Linked DNA regions of Homo sapiens: regions 2, 3 and 4 are each linked to region 1. Evidence: promoter capture Hi-C in 16 types of primary human blood cells and fetal thymus (Javierre and others, 2016). All regions are on one chromosome and are shown on one strand. Each heading gives the region's core, a stretch centred on a gene start or on the middle of the fragment in contact. The rest is flanking DNA. Distances are from core to core; before and after follow the strand shown.

What was found. Contacts are between HindIII fragments. The CHiCAGO score rates a contact against its expected background, and 5 or more counts as called.
Region 2: a contact is called between a fragment that was not itself captured here and the fragment with the promoter of EIF4EBP3 in region 1, in 1 of 17 cell types (naive CD4 T cells). The highest score is 5.1, in naive CD4 T cells.
Region 3: a contact is called between a fragment that was not itself captured here and the fragment with the promoter of EIF4EBP3 in region 1, in 16 of 17 cell types (total CD8 T cells, M2 macrophages, M1 macrophages and 13 more). The highest score is 9.0, in total CD8 T cells.
Region 4: a fragment that was not itself captured here is called in contact with the fragment with the promoter of EIF4EBP3 in region 1 in 1 of 17 cell types (endothelial precursors); the score reaches 5.7 in endothelial precursors.

The regions. Positions count from the first base shown.
Region 1 is chr5:140,544,455-140,549,406 of GRCh38, reverse strand. It overlaps EIF4EBP3 (eukaryotic translation initiation factor 4E binding protein 3), which reads right to left and starts at 1,745. Exons shown (of 3, transcript NM_003732.3): 1 at 1,567-1,745; 2 at 331-501; 3 at 1-173. The coding sequence starts at 1,669. The coding sequence ends at 145. It overlaps ANKHD1-EIF4EBP3 (ANKHD1-EIF4EBP3 readthrough), which reads right to left. Exons shown (of 36, transcript NM_020690.6): 35 at 331-501; 36 at 1-173. The coding sequence ends at 170. RefSeq lists enhancers at 675-1,382, 1,533-1,622, 1,383-2,089, 2,090-2,798. The HindIII fragment of the contact is 7,257 bases long and covers 1-4,432 here.
Region 2 is chr5:140,406,575-140,411,617 of GRCh38, reverse strand. The region is part of intron 1 of ANKHD1-EIF4EBP3 (ANKHD1-EIF4EBP3 readthrough); the gene reads right to left. All of the region lies in intron 1 of ANKHD1 (ankyrin repeat and KH domain containing 1), which reads right to left. Among named protein-coding and RNA genes, the nearest start is that of ANKHD1-EIF4EBP3, 7.3 kb to the right of the region's middle. RefSeq lists an enhancer at 4,477-4,977. The HindIII fragment of the contact is 1,362 bases long and covers 1,728-3,089 here.
Region 3 is chr5:140,675,643-140,680,751 of GRCh38, reverse strand. HARS1 (histidyl-tRNA synthetase 1) reads left to right here. Exons shown (of 13, transcript NM_002109.6): 4 at 869-964; 5 at 1,625-1,750; 6 at 2,737-2,844; 7 at 2,999-3,097; 8 at 3,332-3,425; 9 at 3,636-3,763; 10 at 3,856-4,098. Among named protein-coding and RNA genes, the nearest start is that of DND1, 4.6 kb to the right of the region's middle. RefSeq lists an enhancer at 2,448-2,697. The HindIII fragment of the contact is 4,458 bases long and covers 907-5,109 here.
Region 4 is chr5:140,389,353-140,394,216 of GRCh38, reverse strand. All of the region lies in intron 1 of ANKHD1-DT (ANKHD1 divergent transcript), which reads left to right. Among named protein-coding and RNA genes, the nearest start is that of ANKHD1-DT, 9.6 kb to the left of the region's middle. The HindIII fragment of the contact is 2,499 bases long and covers 1-2,499 here.

The sequences.
Region 1 (4,952 bases), core at 496-2,995:
CTAAAGGAGGCCTGGAACTAACAAGTCACTCCCTTCCAGATTAGATGAGGCCAGCTGGCCTTTGGATGCCCCAGGAAGAGGTGGTGGCAGCAGTGGCATGAGGGATCCCTCTGTAACTCCACATGCCAGGTCATCTGCACTGGATTAGATGTCCATTTCAAATTGTGCGTCATCTGGAGAGAGAAAAGGCAGGAAGACAGGTTGCTGGTCTGAGGATCTGCAGGCTCAGCATCAGTGCAGAAACCCCTCTTGGAACTGAACCCCCGCACTGTGTCACAGTGGCATTTGAACTCAAAGGCTGGGACAATTCTTAATTCCTGCTTTCCTTACCGGGTATCTCTTCCTCTGTCTCCTGCTCCTTCAGCTCCTCCAGCTTGGAGAGAGGGGCTGTTGGAGGAGTTGTGACCCCGGGAATCTGAGGGAGGCAGCAGGGGGGTGTCCGGGCAATGGGTGAGTTCTTGCACTCCAGCAGGAACTTTCGGTCGTAGATGATCCTGGTGCCTGTCAAGGGGTTGGGACTGAGGTAAGAGTCAGGAGCTTGGGTACCGAGGTGACTGGGGTCCCAGACTCAGGCCTTTTGGGGCCTGGAGGTGAGGGTGGTGTCAAATTTCCCTGTGTATCAAAGGACATCGGCTCTGAAGCCCAGCTAGGTTCTCAGCAGACAAGCCTTCATAGTGCTTAAAATCTTCCAGACCTAACCAAGATGTGGGTATAAAGCAAGGGGGGCATCCCAGCTGGTATAGGCAGGGGCTTTATGTTTGGGAGAGCTTCAGATCTTGGCTCTAAGAGGAACACCAAACTTTGAGTTCAGGTACTTCATGCTGCTCCTCTACCACTCTGAAACCTCTGCTTTGGTCTCACCAGTGAAGGTGAGACCTAGACTAACAGCCTCAGGTGGTTCAAGAAGTGAAATAGCAGTTGTGAAGGGTTCCACCCAGTGCTGTTACCTGGGCTATCTCCTGCAGGGAGGAGAAACGTACTGTTCTAATCCTGACCCCTCCCAGGTCCTATAAGGTTCACACTAGCTCAGAGGAACTTGGCCCGCATAATGTCCTCAAAGGGTCCTGCCCTGTTCCTCCCCTCCGCTTCCGCGTGGCAGGAATCCCTGGGTCGGGAGCCCAGCAGCTCGTGATCCCAGGCTGCTCGCCCAACCAAACAGACGCCAGCCAGCAGCACAAAAACGGAGCAACTGCCCCAACTGTTCTAACTACTCCACTTCTCAAGACCCGGTGCTTCCGGCTGAGGTCACGCTCAGTAGGGGGCCCTGGCCCCTATTCCTAGGAAGCAAAGTCGCGAGGGGTAAGGAGCGTGTGTAAGGCTCCAAGAACCCAGGCCACAGTGAAGGATTACAGCCCAAACACCCGGAAGCTAGGCTCATGGCCTTGTTGCATCACTTAGAAGTTTTTGGGAACTGAGCTTCCGCTCCAAACATTCTCCCCCAAAGCTACAACCTGTAGAGGGGCCTGCGGACAAGTCTTAGGTCTGTCCCTCCCCTACCCCCGCCCCGCAACAACACGCACGCGCTAATATGTCCGCAGCCTGCGGACCCCTGCCCGGCCCGCTGACCTCCGGGGGTAGTGGCGTATAGCGTGCCCCCCGGCGTGGTGCTGTAGCAGTCGGGCAGCTGGTCCCGGCCCCCGGGAATCGGGCAGCTAGTGGACGTTGACATAGCGAGCGGGAGGAGCAGCAAAGTAACCGCCTGGCGTTGAGGTCGAGGAGCGCAGCTCTGAGTCTGAGGCGGACTCAGCCGACCACGTGCAGCTGCTGGCAACAACACTAGAACAACGTCACGCCCAGGGCGGGCCACCGGCCGTCACTCAACCCGACGGTCCCGCCCTATCTGCTAGGAAGCCAGCCCGGTTCAGAGAAAGCTGGAAATGCGTCCAAAGTCCCAGGCCCCACACCAGCTTCCAGTTCCTGCTGGCCCAGCGCTGGCCAACCTGCCTGAGTGCTGCAGCAGCTCAGCTATTTACTGTTTATAGCCGGGAGCTGGGGGCAGGTGAAGTAGGGCAAGCGTTTTTATCCTGTATTAGTTCACCCATTCCTTGCCAACTTTTGGATAGTAAAGCACTATGATTAGCCAAAGTCACACATCTTGCAGGAAGGGAAGCTGGGATTCAAATCTGACTGCATCTGATTCCAGGACTGTGCCCTTAAGCCCAGCTGTGTACTGCCTCCCATAAACAGTAACAGTACAAGGCCGGGTGCGGTGGCTCACGGCCTGTAATCCCAGCACTTTGGGAGGCTAAGGCGGGTGGATAGCTTGAGCCCAGGAGTCTGAGACCAGCCTGGGCAACATGGTGAAACCTAGACTCTACTAAAAATACAAAAATTAGCCGGGTGCGGCAGCATGCGCCTGTAGACCCAGCTACTCGGGAAGCTGAGGTGGAAGGATAGGTTGAACCCAGGAGGCGGAGGTTGCAGTGAGCGGAGATTGCACCACTGCACTCCAGCCTGGGTGACACATGCCTTGATGGCCTGGAGCACAGCAGGAAGGGGAAGGTCAGTGAGGGCTGGTCATCTTTCTGAAGAAGTGGTACCTGGACTAATAAAAGGATGAGTCAAGTTTGGGGGCTACAGCTGAGGCATCACCAGTCAGAAGGCCTGCCCTTTGATCTCTTTGCCAGTTAACTAAGGAGGGGCAGGGGGCTAGTGAGGAGGGCTTGGTCTTTAGAAGGAAAGAAAGGTCAGAGAGTTTGGCCTTGGAGTTTTTTTTTTGTTTTTTTTTTTTATGTAGACACAGTGATATGACAGGCTGGAGCAAGGTGGTGGGATTGGTGAAGATGTATATATGCTGGAAATCTTGAATTCATCAGGCTGTCCTGTTTGGCTTCCTCAAAATCAATACTGCCTCCACTGTCCCTTCCCCTCACCAAAAATTAAGTATAGACCACCTGACTGCATCCATTTATCAATATTAACTCAGCTCTGGCTTCATCAGATTTCTCCTTAGGTCTGATTTCTTCACTCATTTAAAAAAAGATTGCTTCTCAAACTATTTATTTTCTGAGATAGGGTTTTGCTCTGCTGCCTAGGCTGGAATGCAGTGGTGTAATCTCAGCTCAATGCAAACTCTGCCTCCTGGGTTCAGGCCATCCTCCCACCTCAGCCTCCTGAGTAGCTGGGACCACAGGTGCCCACCACCACACCGGGCTAATTTTTGGATTTTTTATAGAGACAAGGTTTCACCATGTTGCCCAGGCTGGTCTCGAATTCCTGAGCTCAAGTAACCTATCTGCCTCGGCCTCCCAAAGTGCTGGTGTGAGCCACCACACCTGGCCAGCTTCTCAAACTTTAATGTGCATATAAATCATCTGGAGATATTGTTAAAATGATAATTCTGATACAGTATTGGTCTGGGTGAGATTTTGGATTTTTTTTTTTTTTTGACACAGGGTCTCACTGTCACCCAAGCTGGAGTGTAGTGGTACAATCATGGCTCACTGCAGCCTCAACCTCCTGGGCTCAGGTGACCCTCCCACTTCAGTGTCCTCAATAGCTGGGACCACAGGTGCATGCCACTGTACCTGGCTAATTTTTAAATTTTTTGTAAAGGCGGGGTCTCACTATGTTGCCCAGGCTGGTCTCAAACTTGTGGGCCCAAGCGATCCTCCCAAACAGGCATCCTCCGAAACAAGAATTACAGGCATGAGCCACCGTGCCCAGCCAGTTGTGGATTTTTTTTTTTTTTTTTTGAGATGGAGTTTCGCTCTTGCCGCCCAAATGGCATGATCTTGGCTCACCGCAACCTCCGATTCCCGGGTTTAAGCGATTCTCCTGCCTCAGCCTCCTGAGTAGTTGGGATTACAGGCATGTACCACCACACCCAGCTAATTTTGTAATTTTAGTAGAAACAGAGTTTCTCCATGTTGGTCAGGCTGGTCTTGAACTCCCGACCTCAGGTGATCAGCCTGCCTCGGCCTCCCAAAGTGCTACGATTACAGGCATAAGCCACCACACCTGGCTGGTTTTTTTTTTTTTTTAAGATGGAGTCTTGCTCTGTCACCCAGGCTAGAGTTCAGTGGCATGATCTCAGCTCACTGCAACCTCTGCCTCCTGGGTTCAAGCGATTCTCCTGCCTCAGCCTCCTGAGTAGCTGGAATTACAGGAACCCACCACCGCACCGGGCTAATTTTTTGTATTTTTAGCAGACATCAGGTTTCACTATCTTGGCCAAGCTGGTCTCGAACTCCTGATCTCCAGTGATCTGCCTGGCTTGGCCTCCCAAAGTGCTGGAGTTACAGGCATGAGCCACCGGGCCTGACTGCAACTGTGAGTTTTTAATACAGTAATGCAAACGCTTCAGGGCCTCAGAAACACACTTCAGGTATCAAGGGTATGTATATTTTATTGTCCCGAAAAGGATTTTGAGTATCTTACAAAATGGTGCATGCCAAAATGAAGTGTCTTAGCAGTGCTGGAGGGTAAAGCTTGGGAACAGATTGTAGTGAATCATTTATGATAACTAACCTTTTATGCAACGTGAGGAAGTGTCTGACAGGGGGAATGGGAGAATAGGGTGGAGGATGGTGAGATTTGAGGGTAGAGTCCAGTCTAGTGAAACCAGGTGGGCAAACGGGCGATGGCTGTGAGGATGGAGAGAAGTGGATGAGATTCAGATACACAGAGGAAGAATAAAGTGACTGATTAAGAGTGGGGTGAGGGAAAGTGTAAACTAGGATAATTTTCAGTCTTTTGGCTTGAGAGTCTTGGTGGCTAGTAGCACCAACTAATATGATAGGGAAAACAAGAAGAGCAGCATATCTTATATGAGGGAATGAATAATATGTGTTCAGATGGAGCACAGGAGGAAGCTAGATATAGTGAAGCCATGGGGAGAACTCTGAGTTAGTGGCTCAAATTTGGGTGGTGTGAAATTCAAGAGTGTGGGGATGGGCTAGGATCGGTAGCTCACATCTGTTAATTCTGGCATTTTGGGAGGCTGAGGTGGG
Region 2 (5,043 bases), core at 1,159-3,658, 140 kb after region 1:
AACTCGGGAGGCAGAGGTTGCAGTGAGCCAAGATTGCACCATTACACTCCAGCCTGGGCAACAGAGTGAGACTCCGTTCTCAAACAAACCAAAAAAAAAACAGCCAAAAAAAAAAAAAAACTTTTCCAACAAGATCAACTATGGATTATAAACTATAATAGTTTGAAAGAGGCATTTATAAGCAACTAATTAAACTCATTAATATAATGCATCAAAAGAAAGTTAGGAGAATCTGGAAGGTAGGATAACTAGAATGGGAATCAGATGGCCTATTTTTCAGTCTTGACTGCTACATATTAACTGTGTGATCTGGGCAAGTCATTTAGCTCAACAGTTCCCAGACTTCTGAGGCTTTTATCCAGGGTCCCAAATGAAGTTTCCAGTTGATATTCTGTTAAGTACAGATAGTTTTAAAAATTCATTTTGTAAAAGTAGGAAGAGTATTTGTCAAAATAGAAAAAAGTGGGAAAAAATAGCTTCATTAGAAATTCACTACATCCTGCTTATTTTCTCCATTTTACTTTACATCTGTGAAAACTTCAATAGGAACTAAACAATGATTTATTTAAAAAACAGCATTTGGTAACCAAAAACTACATATTTCTTAATTTGAAGCAAAATAACAGTATGGGCTCTAAATTCAGTATCACATTCAAATCCCACCTTTACCAGTCACTAGCCATATAACATTTTAACCATTTTTTTGTTTTTTAGATTCATTACTCTAAAAACTCTCTGAGCCTACACTTATTCATCTATAAAAATGTAGATAATACCTACCTCAAAGGGGTGATGAAACGATTAAATAAAATAACGAAAGTATCTAGTACGGTACTGGTATATAATAAGCATTCAATAAATGGTAGCAGTTACCTAAAAATGAGATGAGATAGGATTATCACCAAGATTCTATGACTCTATAGACAAGCAATAGGAGAGGGAAATGTGATCAATAAGGTCTGTGAAGACAGATACATTGAAACAGTTCCTTTATAGTGGGTTTAAAAAAAGAATTGATTTTATTTATTACAACTTTAGTTCTGAGAAAGTAAATTTGGCCAAAAAAAAAAATTTGGTAAACTTGTCATTTATTTTGTTTACTTGCCAATTCAAGGCTAAAACTGTTTAAAACTGTTTTGCTTTTCTTTAAAGTAACATATTTTATTTATATTAGTGATCACTGAATCAGAAGGCCAGAACTGATTTTGAATTCATCTAGTCAATCAGCACTCTACTAACAAATAGACTCAGAAAGGAATGTGCTTAAACTCACCTCCATCCTTCATTCATAACATAATTTATCACTTTAATTTTTTAAAAAAGTCTAAATCCTTCTCAAATTTACCATTTAAAAATTTCACATAAATAGCATCTTACCATCTGTGTAACAGTAGGGAAAATACACATAGTTGTATTTTCATAAAGAAATTCTGAAAGGCTATATAATACTTTTATTAAAAGTATAAAGAGCAAGATATGTGGGAGCAGGGTGAGATTGAGACTTCACTGTATCTGCCCTTATATTACTTTGACTTATGAACTATATGAATGTAATTATCTATTGAAAATATACTAATAACAACAAAAACCTCTCATACTTAAAGTTTCCCAAAAAGTTTTCCTCCACCCATACTAATCAACTCTGCATCAACCCCACCATTCACATAAATATACTTATCAATGCATCATTTTATATGTAAAGTCTTAAGGCTTTACATCATGAAGCTTGTGAAAGGTTGATATTTGTGCAACATACAAAAAATTGTGGCTGGGCGCGGTGGCTCACACCTGTAATCCCAGCACTTTGGGAGGCTGAGGCGGGTGGATCACAAGGTCAGGAGACCGAGACCATCCTGGGTAACACAGTGAAACACCGTCTCTACTAAAAATACAAAAAATTAGCCGAGCGTGGTGGCACGGGCCTGTAGTCCCAGCTACTCAGGAGGCTGAGGCAGGAGAATCACTTGAACCCAGGAGGTGGAGGCTGCAGTGAGCCGAGATCCTGCCACTGCACTCCAGCCTGGGTGACAGAGCAAGGCTCCTCTGACTCAAAAAAAAAAAAAAAAAATTGTTACAGTAATAACATATAATTCTTTTTATTCAATAAGCATTTCCAAAGTCTCCAAAATTAGCCCACTAGAATACAAAGTTATATTTCCTATGTTATCACTACAAATGATAATTTATGGAATAAAGCATTTCTACTTTGAACAAACTGGAAGTCCCCATAAAAGTTTTTTAAAAATTCATTTTCATGGACAACTGAACTTTTTGAAAAATAATATATTTTAAGTGAAAGTTCCCCAAAATGATACATTTACCATAGAAAATTTACAGCAGTGCATGCTAGTTTTATATTAAACCTTTCAGTACCTTCTATTTCTCCCTTGTTCAGGTTATAAGCATAAGTCCTGAAATGCTATTAAAAGCAGTGACTCACCTTGTTTACCTTAAGTTTGAATACAGAGTATAACAAAACTACCATTCCTGACAAGAGTGGCCTCTAGACCGGTAGCTCTCAACCAGGAGTGATTTTGTCCCTAGGAGACATTTGGCAACGTCTGAACAATTTTTGGCTATCATAATCGGGTTCTACTGGCATCTAGTGGGTAGAGGCCAGGGATGCTTCTAATGCACAGGAGAGCCCCTCACAACAAAGAATTCTCTGTCCCAAAATGTCTATATGTTGCTCTTGAGAAACTGCTCTAGATTATAGATCATACTAGCCAAGTATTGTGGTGCACACCTATAGTCCCCTGTAGTCCTGACTACTTGGGAGGCTGAAGCAGAAGGATTGCTTGAGCCCAGGAGTGGGAGACCACATAGAGTTATGACCATGCCACCGCACTGTGTAGCCAGGGCAACAGCCAGCCTGGGCAAAAAAGCGAGACCCCCATCTCTCAAAACACATAACGGTAAAAAAAATTTAATTAAAAATTAAAAAACAGATTATATATAGATCATAAACAATCTTAAAGGATATGACCCAACTCCTTACCTACTGGAGAAAATCAGGATGGGATTTCTGTATGACTTTTGCTTTTGATGTTAAAAGTAATTTTCAGGGAAAAAGGAATCCCTACAAAGCTTGTGCTATATTTTCAGAGCTAAATACAATTTCTGCGTGCTTTTATATAATTGTAAATACAGCACCTGCTTCAAGAAAAAAACCTCAGTGTGATATAAAGCTACACTTTTAAATTTGATATGCCTTTAAAGTATGTGTATATGAACATATATACATATATACATAGAAAGATAGGCCTAGAAAATTTACTGAATGAAAAATTTTAATATTGGTTACCTTGAAGGGTAGAATTTGAAGAATTAATGGGGGTGGGAAGAAGCACTTTTACTTTTCCCCTTATACCTACTATCTATATTGTTGAGTTTTTCAACAAGTAACTATTTTGTAATAATTTTATTATTTTCTAATTTTTTGAGATGGAGTCTTGCTCTGTTACCCAGACTGGAGTGCACTGGTATGATCTTGGCTGACTGCAGCCTCCGTCTCCCGGGTTCAAGAGATTCTCCTGCCTCAGCCTCCCAAGTGGCTAGGATTACAGGCGCCTGCCACCATACCCAGCTAATTTTTGTATTTTTAGTAGAGACAGGCTTTCACCATGTTGGCCAGGCTGGTCTCAAACTCCTGACCTCAGATGATCCATCCGCTTTGGCCTCCCAAAGTGGTGGGATTACAGGCGTGAGCCACCGCGCCCGGCCACTTTTGTAATAATTTTAAAAGAGGGCCGTCACACACACACATACACACACAAACACACATATACACACACATTCATTCTTACGACAAAAATTGAAAACCATGTCTCACACAATCTTTTCTTTAGAAACTGTATTTTTATTTCGATTTGCTAAAAAAATTAAAAGACCACAATTCTAAAATTAAAATTTAAAAATTGGTTTTTCGGTCAGGCACAGTGGCTTACAACTTGTAATCTCTGCATTTTTGGAGGCCCAGGCAGAAGGATCCCTTGAGGCCAGGAGTTCAAGACTAGCCTGGGCAACATTTTTTTTTTTTTAAATCAGGTGGAGTGGTGGAGTACACCTCTAGTTAGACCTAGCTCTTTGGGAGGCTGAGGCAGTAGGATTGCTTGAGCCCAGGAATTCGAGGTTGCAGTGAACTATGATCATGCCACTGCATTCCAGCCTGGGTGACAGAGCAAAAGCCCATCTCTAAAAATAAATAAATAAATAAAAATAGGCTGGGTGTGGTGGCTCACACCTGTAATCCTAATCTCAAAATAAATAAATAAAAATTTAAAATAAAAACCATTTTTTAAAGTGGTTTTTTTTTTTTTTTTGGAGATGGAGTCTCACTCTGTCACCCAGGCTGGAGTGCAGTGACGCGATCTCAGCTCACTGCGACTTCTGCCTCCCAGGTTCAAGCAATTCTCCTGCCTCAGCCTCCTGAGTAGGCTGAGATTGCAGGTGCGTGCCACCACGCCCACCTAATTTTTGTTTTTTAGTAGAGATGGGGTTTCACCATGTTGGTCTGGCTGGTCTCAAACTCCTGATCTTGTGACCCACCCACCTCGGCCTCCCAAAGTGCTGGGATTACAGGCGTTAGCCACCGCACCAGGCCTAAAGTGGTTTTTAAGAAATTTTTAACCTAACTTCTATTCTGAACATGGATACATTTCTTAATAGGATTCAATGCAGTGCTAGCTCTTCTAATCAAGGGCTTCGATAGCTAAGAAACATGCTAAGAATGCCTGAAGAAATACGAAGCAGGTATTTACCCCAATGTTTAAAATAACAAAAGGGCCAGGTGGGTGACTCACGGCTGTAATCCCAGCACTTTGGGAGACCTAGGCGAGCAGATCACCTGAGGTCAGGAGTTCGAGACCAGCCTGGCCAATATGGTGAAACCCCCATTTCTGCTAAAGATAGAAAAATTAGCCAGGCATGGTGGCACGCACTTGTAATCTCACTACTGAGGCAGGAGAATCACTTGAATGCAGGAAGCAGAGGTTGCAGTGAGCTAAGATCGTGCCAGCCTGGGCGACAAGACTCCATCTCAAA
Region 3 (5,109 bases), core at 1,886-4,385, 130 kb before region 1:
TCTCCTGCCTAAGCCTCCGAATAGCTGGGATTAGATGCCTACCAGCTCCCCCAGCTAATTTTGTATTTTTAGTAGAGACAGGGTTTCACCATGTTGGCCAGGCTGGTCACGAACTCCTGACCTCAGGTGATCCATCCGCCTTGGCCTCCCAAAGTGCTGGGATTACAGGCGTGAGCCGCTATGCCTGGCCTAAAAAAATTTTTTTTTAAATTAGAATAACCTAAACACCTAACAGTATAACATGAGGGAGGAAGTAAGTACAGAGCTTCTTCTCACTGGAATTTATGCATCTTTTAAAAACACTTCAGGCCGGGCGCTGTGGCTCGCACTTGTAATCCCAGTACTTTGGGAGGCTGAAGCGGGCAGATCACGAGGTCAAGAGATCGAGACTATCCTGGCCAACATGGTGAAACCCTGTCTCTACTAAAAATACAAAACTTAGCCGGGCATGGTGGCACCCGCCTGTAGTCGCAGCCACTCTGGAGGCTGAGGCAGGAGAATCTCTTGAACCCCGGAGTCAGAGGTTGCAGTGAGCCGAGATCACGCCACTGCACTCCAGCCTGGTGACAGAGCGAGACTCCATTTCAAAAAAAAAAAACAAACTTCATGCTGAGAAGTCTGAAGAAAAAAAAGATTTTTAAGAGGAAAATGTGTAAGAAAAATACTTCAGCTCTGTTACAAAATCAAAATAGAAAAAAACACAAAATTGGTGTTTCCTTTTAATGATAACTACATCAGACACCTAAGAATTGGGATAAAGAGCAGAGGGAAATGTAGACAAGTTGGAATCAGTCATGTTTGTTTTCAAAACTTCCTTTTAAATTGTTATGTTTATTATTATGACCACATTTATTTATGTTTTCTCCAGGAAACACTGATGGGAAAGTATGGGGAAGACTCCAAGCTTATCTATGACCTGAAGGACCAGGGCGGGGAGCTCCTGTCCCTTCGCTATGACCTCACTGTATCTTTCTAAACTTGGGCTCTTGAGACTTTGGATGGATTGGCACTCACTTGGCTCAGGTTTAAGAATGGTAGAGTAGGTAGGATCAAATATGAGGCCTTTGGCGATTAGGGGAATTATTTCTCTAAACCAGGAGTGGAACTTTGGCTAAACAGAGCATACACATCCTTAGAAATCTTCTGAATCCTGAGTGAGACCTCAGCTTGATGTCAGGGCCCAGTTCCAACTCTACAGTCATCCCCTGGCTCCAGAATACCTCTCCCCTGCCCTGTCCAGTGAACAAAATTCTTCTTAATGGACTAGCAACACATTTCCCTTGTCTCCAAGCTACACAGAGAATCATCTGCTTAGAAATCCCATATGGGGGCCTTTTTCTGGTCGCCTTTTTCTGGTCTGTGGCCAACCTGCCCAGCCCCTTGCCATGCTCAAAAAAGTCCAGTCAACACTACAAAAGGGAAAGGTGCCTTAATCTTTTTTGAGCCTTCAGCTACCTCATGTGGTAGCACAGCTGATGCTTTCTGATGTTTGTAAGTGCTATTAATCTTATGGGTGGCAGTTTTACCCACATAGGGAGGGGTTAGACCCCAGCTTCTGTTGGTGATGATAATCAACTTGCAGACAGTGATAGGAGGGGCTTTCTCCTTAACTCTTTGTCATCAGGTTCCTTTTGCTCGGTATTTGGCAATGAATAAACTGACCAACATTAAACGCTACCACATAGCAAAGGTATATCGGCGGGATAACCCAGCCATGACCCGTGGCCGATACCGGGAATTCTACCAGTGTGTGAGTGTTGGGAAACCGTGGGGCAGGATGAGTTACTTGGGGCTCTCTCAAGCCAGCAGAATCTATTGAGTACTCACGGTGTCCTGAGCAAATTGGATGACCCAGATAATGCTCTTAGGGTTTCTATGGTGGTTTTTTTGTTTGTTTTTTGTTTTTTTGAGACGGAGTCTCGCTCTGTTGCCCAAGCTGGAGTGCAGTGGTGCAGTCTTGGCTCACTGCAACCTCTGCCTCCTGGGTTCAAACGATTCTTCTGCCTCAGCCACCTGAGTAGCTGGGATTACAGGCGCCTGCCACTATGCCCGGCTAATTTTTTGTATTTTTAGTAGAGACGGGGTTTTACCATGTTGGCCAGGCTGGTCTCGAACTCCTGGTCTCATGATCCGCCTGCCTCGGCCTCCCAAAGTGCTGGGATTACAGGCGTGAGCCACCGCACCCAGCCTCTTCTATGGTGTTTTCATGCAGATTTCACAAAATCCCTGTGGTGGGGGAGGAGAATAAAGTCTCTTCATTTTACATATGAGTAAACTTGATACCCAGCCCATGAAGAGATCATAGGGATAAGAAAGGCAAAGTCAGGACTAGAACTCTTGGTCCAGTGCTCTTTATTTTAAACCACAGTGATAGGATCACAGCAGAGAATAAGGAAATTAGCTTTGATACATCAAATCATCCAGACTGATGCCAGGGCTTCTGGATGAATAGGGAAAATGGCTAAGCACTAAAGCCATATAATCACCCCATCCAGTAGGAGGAGTTAAGAAGATGATGAAGTAGAAAATGAAGGAATAGCCCAGTAGATGGAAAGGAAACCAAAACTGGTGAGAAGCCCAAAGATGCCGGGGTTTACCTCTGGGCTGATGATCAGAAAATGAAAGAGAAATTCTATGCTTGAGTGCAACCAGGCCTTCCTAGAGGACAGAGCTCCCAGAGTCCCCCCTTCAGAAAGGTGAATCCCTGAAGACCGCTGGCTAACCCTCTCCCTGCAGGATTTTGACATTGCTGGGAACTTTGATCCCATGATCCCTGATGCAGAGTGCCTGAAGATCATGTGCGAGATCCTGAGTTCACTTCAGATAGGCGACTTCCTGGTCAAGGTCAGAGCTGACAAGGCTGGGAGGGCAAAGTTGGGCCTGGCCTCTCACAAGAGAAGATCCTTGTGCAGAGGGACCAGTAGCCTAAGTGACCATGACTATTGCAGGTCATGTAAGAAAAGAGATTCCCCCCTCACTATGCATTGGTTCCTTGCAGGTAAACGATCGACGCATTCTAGATGGGATGTTTGCTATCTGTGGTGTTTCTGACAGCAAGTTCCGTACCATCTGCTCCTCAGTAGACAAGCTGGACAAGGTAACAACCCAAGTACTTGACTTCTTTTCCCAGATCCCACCCTGCCTTGGGAAATGGAAAACAAGATTGAGAGAGAGAGAGGTGCATGCCTCTATACCCACCAGAGGAAGGTTAGCCCCAGGATGTAGGCTCATGGGCAGCTACTGCTCTAAAACGGTTCCCCGAGGACAGTACACACTTGCTCTGTGGTGCGGAAGCTGCCCAGGGGTCCCTGACTGGTGTCTGTCTGCCTAGGTGTCCTGGGAAGAGGTGAAGAATGAGATGGTGGGAGAGAAGGGCCTTGCACCTGAGGTGGCTGACCGCATTGGGGACTATGTCCAGCAACATGGTGAGGAACAGAACCAAGCCTCCCCAGCAGCCGTCCCACTGCCCTCAGTCCTAAAGTTGAAACTGTTCTGTGTTATGTATGTAGGGGAGTGAGTGTGTCTATGCATATGTACACACACATGCATGGGCGACTAGAGTCCAGGCAAGAAGGTCAACCCTCCTTACCTTTTTTGTTTCCTTGTCAGCCTCACTCACAAGTCTGTCTCCCCAGGTGGGGTATCCCTGGTGGAACAGCTGCTCCAGGATCCTAAACTATCCCAAAACAAGCAGGCCTTGGAGGGCCTGGGAGACCTGAAGTTGCTCTTTGAGTACCTGACCCTATTTGGCATTGATGACAAAGTGAGTCAAGTTGGGGACGGGATCCCTTCTGAGCTCTGGGGCTTCAGGTCCCTGATCTTAATCTGGCACTGACCATTTTCTTATCTCCACAGATCTCCTTTGACCTGAGCCTTGCTCGAGGGCTGGATTACTACACTGGGGTGATCTATGAGGCAGTGCTGCTACAGACCCCAGCCCAGGCAGGGGAAGAGCCCCTGGGTGTGGGCAGTGTGGCTGCTGGAGGACGCTATGATGGGCTAGTGGGCATGTTCGACCCCAAAGGGCGCAAGGTGCCATGTGTGGGGCTCAGCATTGGGGTGGAGCGGATTTTCTCCATCGTGGAACAGAGACTAGAGGTAGGTCCTAGGAGGTAGGTAGAAGATAGTCTGAGCAGGTGGTGGCACCTAAGCTATCTGATCTCCAAGGGAGCAAGTGGTGCTGCTTTGGGCAGGGAGCATCTCACAGAAATGGAGAAAAGATTATTGCTCTTTTTCACAGATTTCTACCCCATTATATGTAAGTTTTATGGATCTTTAATCCATAATCTTTCTGCACTCAATCCTCTGCTCTGGGTCTCTACTTCCTTCAGGGCTGTCACAAACCTGGGCTGGTGTATCCAAGACTTAGATCTTCCTCATGATACGGAATACTTAACATTTTACTGCCTTGTGCCAGGCACTGTGCTTGGTGCTTTTCATGCATTATCAAAATATAATTGTTACTACAGCCCTGTGAGAGTAGCTAATTTTATTAATTGCATTTTCCAGATGAGAACACTGAAGCATTATAGATCAAATAATTTGCTTAAGGCCATGAAACTTGTAAGTGGTAGGGTCAGAATTTGAATCCAGGCAGTCTGACTCCAAAGTCTTGCCACTAACCACACTGCAATACTGTCTCTAAATGGGAAGCATGTGTCTGAGGCCCTGGGATCCCTCAGATGGCTACCGTGACTCTCTAGCACCTAGAGTAACACCAAGGAAGCCTCTTGTAGCCTCAAGCCCTCCTTTGTTGCTGCTGGTCTTAAGTGGCTGGTTGCATTTCATCTTCTGGGAAATGCTCTGGCAACCTCCCCACAGTCCTATGCCTTTTCTCTAGGGTGGAAACCACCCATTTCCCAGTTGAGATCATTTTTCCAGTAGGCATCTTACATTCTAAGAACTATGAAAATAGTTTTCCTGAAAAAGACAAGGGAAGCAGCAGCAGCATTCTCCTTTCCCCACACCCATATACACGCCTGTGCCCTGTAACTGAAGTGTGAGAGGCACAGTGTCATAAATGGGTAGATAGTAAGTGGGGACTAAAACTGTCAAGGGTGATCTAATTGGGGTGGGCTCATAGTAGTACTTCTGTGTGAATGCTTTGGT
Region 4 (4,864 bases), core at 1-2,500, 150 kb after region 1:
TAGCCAGGCATGGTGGTGGGTGCTATAATCCCAGCTACTTGGGAGGCTGAGGCAGGAGAATCGCTTGAACCTGGGAGGCAAGAGACTGCAGTGAGCCGAGATCACACCACTGCACTGCAGCCTGGGTGACAGAGCGAGACTCCATCTCAAAAAAAAACAAAACAAACAAAAAAAACCCAAAACAACAACAAAGCTAAACATGATGGATTTACTTTATGTGTTTGGTTTCAGACAGCAATGAGAAGAACTTCACCTAGGTAGAACATTACTTGCTGAGTCAGCCAGAAACCTCCAAACCTTCAACTGGACAGAAACACAGTTAGATTTACTGTAACTCTGTAACTGAAAACTTTTTTTTTTTTTGACAGGGTCTTGCTCCTGTTACCTAGGTTGGAGTAGTGCAGTGGTGCAGTCTCACTACAGCCTCAACCTCCCAGGCTCAAGCCACCCTCCCACCTCAACCTTCCAAGTAGCTGGAACTACAGGTGCACACCACCATGCCCAGCTTGTTTTGTTTTGTTTTGTTGTGTTTTTTTGTATTTTGGTAGAGACAGGGTTTTTGCCATGTTACCCAGGCTGCTCTCAAACTCCTGGGCTCAAGCGATCCACCTGCCTCAGTCTCCCAAAGTGCTGGGATTATAGATGTGAGCCACCACACCTGGCCCAAATTTTTAAAAGACATCAAGTTGTAGCTTTGCTTTTTGCAAAAGTTAAACATCTCTCTGCAGAAAGGTCATATTGGTTGACAATGAAGATTAATCCACTCTTCCCCCAGGTGAGTCCTTGGTGAATATTTTTGTGTATTGCTTCCATTGGAAGGATTGTACTGAAAATATGAGTCCCAGCAGTAATTCTATGAGCTTTCTCACTTCAGTACTAATTAAAAGGAAAAGCCGTCCAGCACAGTGGCTTACACCCATAATCCCAACACTTTGGGAGGCTGAGACAGGCGGATCACAAGGTCAGGAGTTCAAGACCAGCCTGGCCAACATGGAGAAACCCCGTCTCTACTAAAAATACAAAAATTAGCCGGGCGTGATGGCAGGTGCCCATAGTCCCAGCTATTCAAGAGGCTGAGGCAGAAGAATCGCTTGAACCTGGGAGGCAGAGGTTGCAGTGAGCCGAGATTGCACCAGTGCACTCCAGCCTGAGTGGCAGAGTGAGACTCCATCTAAAAAAAAAGGAAAAACCAAGAGTCACATTGAGAAATAAGTACCAGTAAGTGTGTAGTTCAGCCCAGATGTTCTGGTCTACAGTTATACAAGCTCTTTGACAAGAAGAGGGTTCTAAGAACTGACAATCAATAAGTTACTGGGAGAAATCCAGAACTCTACCTTGTGCATTACAGTGAACCCTCTGCTTCTTCTATCCCACACTTGGTAAACCTGAAGCTAGTGACCCCAAACATCCTTTTTCACATGTCCTCTTACCACTGCAACTTAGGCAGCCACACCCACCTTTTGTAGAAGCTCTCCTTGGCTGGTACCATGTCCTTCTGCCACAGACTTTAGAACATCCCAGAATTGGTGAAAATTTTGAATCTTATGGTCTGAGCACTTTTTCTGATGAGAGAACAGCTAGATAGCAACCGCAGCAGCAAGAATCCTCTTATTTTACAGGTTATGGTGGCCTGGCATTTAGTGAATCAGCACTTTTGAGTCAGAAGAACCCTTGAGGGGTGTTTTAGTTTTTCACAATCCCCCCGCCCCGCCTTTTTTTTTTTTTGAGATGGAGTTTCGCTCTTCTTGCCCAGGCTGGAGTCCAATGGGATGATCTCAACTCACTGCAACCTCCACCTCCCAAGTTCAAGCGATTCTCCTGCCTCAGCCTCCCAAGTAGCTGGGATTACAGGCGTGTGTCACCATGCCCAGCTAATTTTGTATTTTTAGTAGAGATGGGGTTTCACCATGTTGGCCAGGCTGGTCTTGAACTCCTGACCTCAGGTGATCCGCCCGCCTCGGCCTCCCAAAGTGCTGGGATTACAGGTGTGAGCCACCATGCCCAGCCTTACAATTTTTTTTAAATAGAGGAGTAACAAGGAGTGAGCATTAGGATCAGTATCTCCCAATAAAATCTCTGAAGTGATTTTACATGACCCATCCATTACCCTCTGATATTTCCTGTGAGAACCTGAAGTACATAATTGCTTACCACAATGAGAAAGGAGCAGACCAAGGACTCCAACTCAAAGAGCAATTTGGGCTTATAAGTGAGGACTGAGTCACTCTGAAGGCTGATCTTGGAGACTCTTGTGGAGTGTTTGAACTCAACTCAGTTTGCCACACCCCTTTTTCATCAAGACAGTCCCATAAATCAGGAGACACAGCATGGCATTCACCTGCAGGGCAGGTAACAGTGCCACCTACCAAGTGTTCTTTCCCAAGGAAGTGGCTATGGCCCCGAAAGGACACTTGTAGAAAGTCTAGGCCAGACATGAGTCTGATATAAGCTCACAGAAGCTATTAAGAAATATAGTGGTCAGGACTCTACTCTGAAGCTTTTCACCTAGAAGCCCTTCTTAGACCCTGGCATTTACACCTCTGATGTCAAGGGAAAAAAAAAGAAAAGAAAAACAGCCAAAGTTGGACTTCTCCAGCAGAGATTTAGTCAATGCAAAAGGTTCGTCAGTTGAAAAGAATTGCATCACCATTCAGAGTTATGCAGGACATATGGGCAGGCCTGTTGTGGCCTCTGGAGTTTGGTTAAAGCCCTAAACTGTCCCAATGGCTCCACCCATAAGCTGGCAACATTTTAAATCAAGATTGAGCCATACTAGAGAGTCCAAAGAAAACAGCAATACTTTTCTGTATACCAGGGATTTCAAATGAATATTAGAATTCCTGGAGAGTGACTGAAGGGCTCAGAAATATTTAAAAACCCTTCAAAGCACTGGTTGACCACTATTCAGAGCCTGGTAATCCTCATGCCCAACAATTACTCTCACAAGTTCCCTGTTGCACTCTCTGTATACCATTAGCAGTAGTGTAATTGATACAATCTTTAGGGAAATAAGTTTGGAGGTGCCTTCATTTTATTTTTTTGAAACAGAGTCTCTGTCGCCCAGGCTGGAGTACAGTGGTGTGATCTCAACTCACTGCAACCTCCGTCTTCTGGGTTCAAGCAATTCTTCTGCCTCAGCCTCCCAAGTAGCTGGGATTACAGACATATGCCACCACACTCGGCTAATTTTTGTATTTTTAGTAGAGATGGGGTTTCACCATGTTTGCCAGTCTGGCCTGGAAATTCTGACCTCAAGTGATCCACCCACCTCAGCCTCCCAAAGTGCTGGGTTTACAGGCGTGAGCCATGTGCCCGGTCCTTCTTTTTTTTTTTTTTTTTTTTTTTTAAGTGCAACTACCCTTTGATTTAGCAAATCCATTTCCAACTCTGGAGGAAAAGTGGCACAGAAACCCTCACACATTAACTAAAAAAAAAAAAAAAAAATGTGTACAGGGACATTAATTAAAACCTTACTTGTCAGGGCTAGGCACGGTGGCTCACTCCTATAATCCCAGCACTTTGGGAGACTGAGGCAGACGGATCATTTGAGGTCAGGAGTTCAAGACCAGCCTGGCCACATGGTGAAACCCTATCTCTACTTAAAAAAAAAAAAAAAAAAGCCAGACAGGGTGGCTCACACCTGTAATCCCAGCACTTTGGGAGGCCAAGATGGGTGGATCACTTGAGGTCAGGAGTTTGAGACCAGCCTGACCAACATGGCGAAACTTCGTCTCTACTAAAAAATACAAAAATTAGCCAGGCATGGTGGCAGATGCCTGTAATCCCAGCTACTCGGGAGGCTGAGGCAGGAGAATCGCTTGAACCTTGGAGCAAAGGTTGCAGTGAGCTGAGATCACACCGCTGCACTCCAACCTCGGTGACAGAGCGAGACTGTCTCAAAAAAAAAGAAAAAACATTAGCCAGGGGGTTGGTGCACACCTGTAGTCCCAGCTTCTCAGGAGACTGAGGCACGAGAATCACTTGAAGCTGGGAAACGGAGGTTGCAGTGTGCAAGATCATGCCACTGCACTCCAGCTTGGACAAAAGAGTGAGACTCTGTCTCAAAACAGACAAACCTTACTTGTCTATCAATAAGTGGCTAAGTAAGCTGCGGTACAGTTATAACATGACCTACAATATACTTGTTAAAAAGAATGAAGAGGCCAGGCACAGTGGCTCACGCCTGTAACCCCAGCACTTTGAGAGGCTGAGGTGGGCAGATCACGAGGTCAGGAGATTGAGACCATCCTGACCAACATGGTGAAACCCTGTCTCTACTAAAACACAAAAAATTAGCTGGCCGTGGTGGCTCGCGCCTGTAGTCCCAACTACTTGGAAGGCTGAGGCAGGGGAATAGCCTGAACCCAGGAGGCGGAGGATGCAATGAGCCAAAATCACGCCACTGCACTCCAGCCTGACGACAGAGCAAGACTCTATCTCAAAAAAAAAAAAAAAAGAAGAAAATCAGAAGGCTGATTGTGCATGGTACACTGCCAAGTGAGGGAAAAAGTGAAATTATTTCAGTTTTTTACTAGAAGTATATCATTTTATTTGTGCATATATTGTTTGAATTTGTTTACAATGAGTATGTAACACCTTGGTAACAAAACTATTTTCCAAAACCACCCCAGTTATTACCTTAAAACCAAACTTTAGAGAGTTAGTAGATTTTTTTTGTTTTTGAAAATCTTTATTGTTATTATTAGTGTGTTTATCCAACAAATTAAGAAGAAAAATAAAATTTAAAAAAGTTAGAATGTACTTTTTTGGGCAAAATCTAGGGAGTTACATTTAACTCAGAGAAATGTGAACTTAGGGAAGAAATATTTCACTTATACTTTGACATACACACACATACACGGGT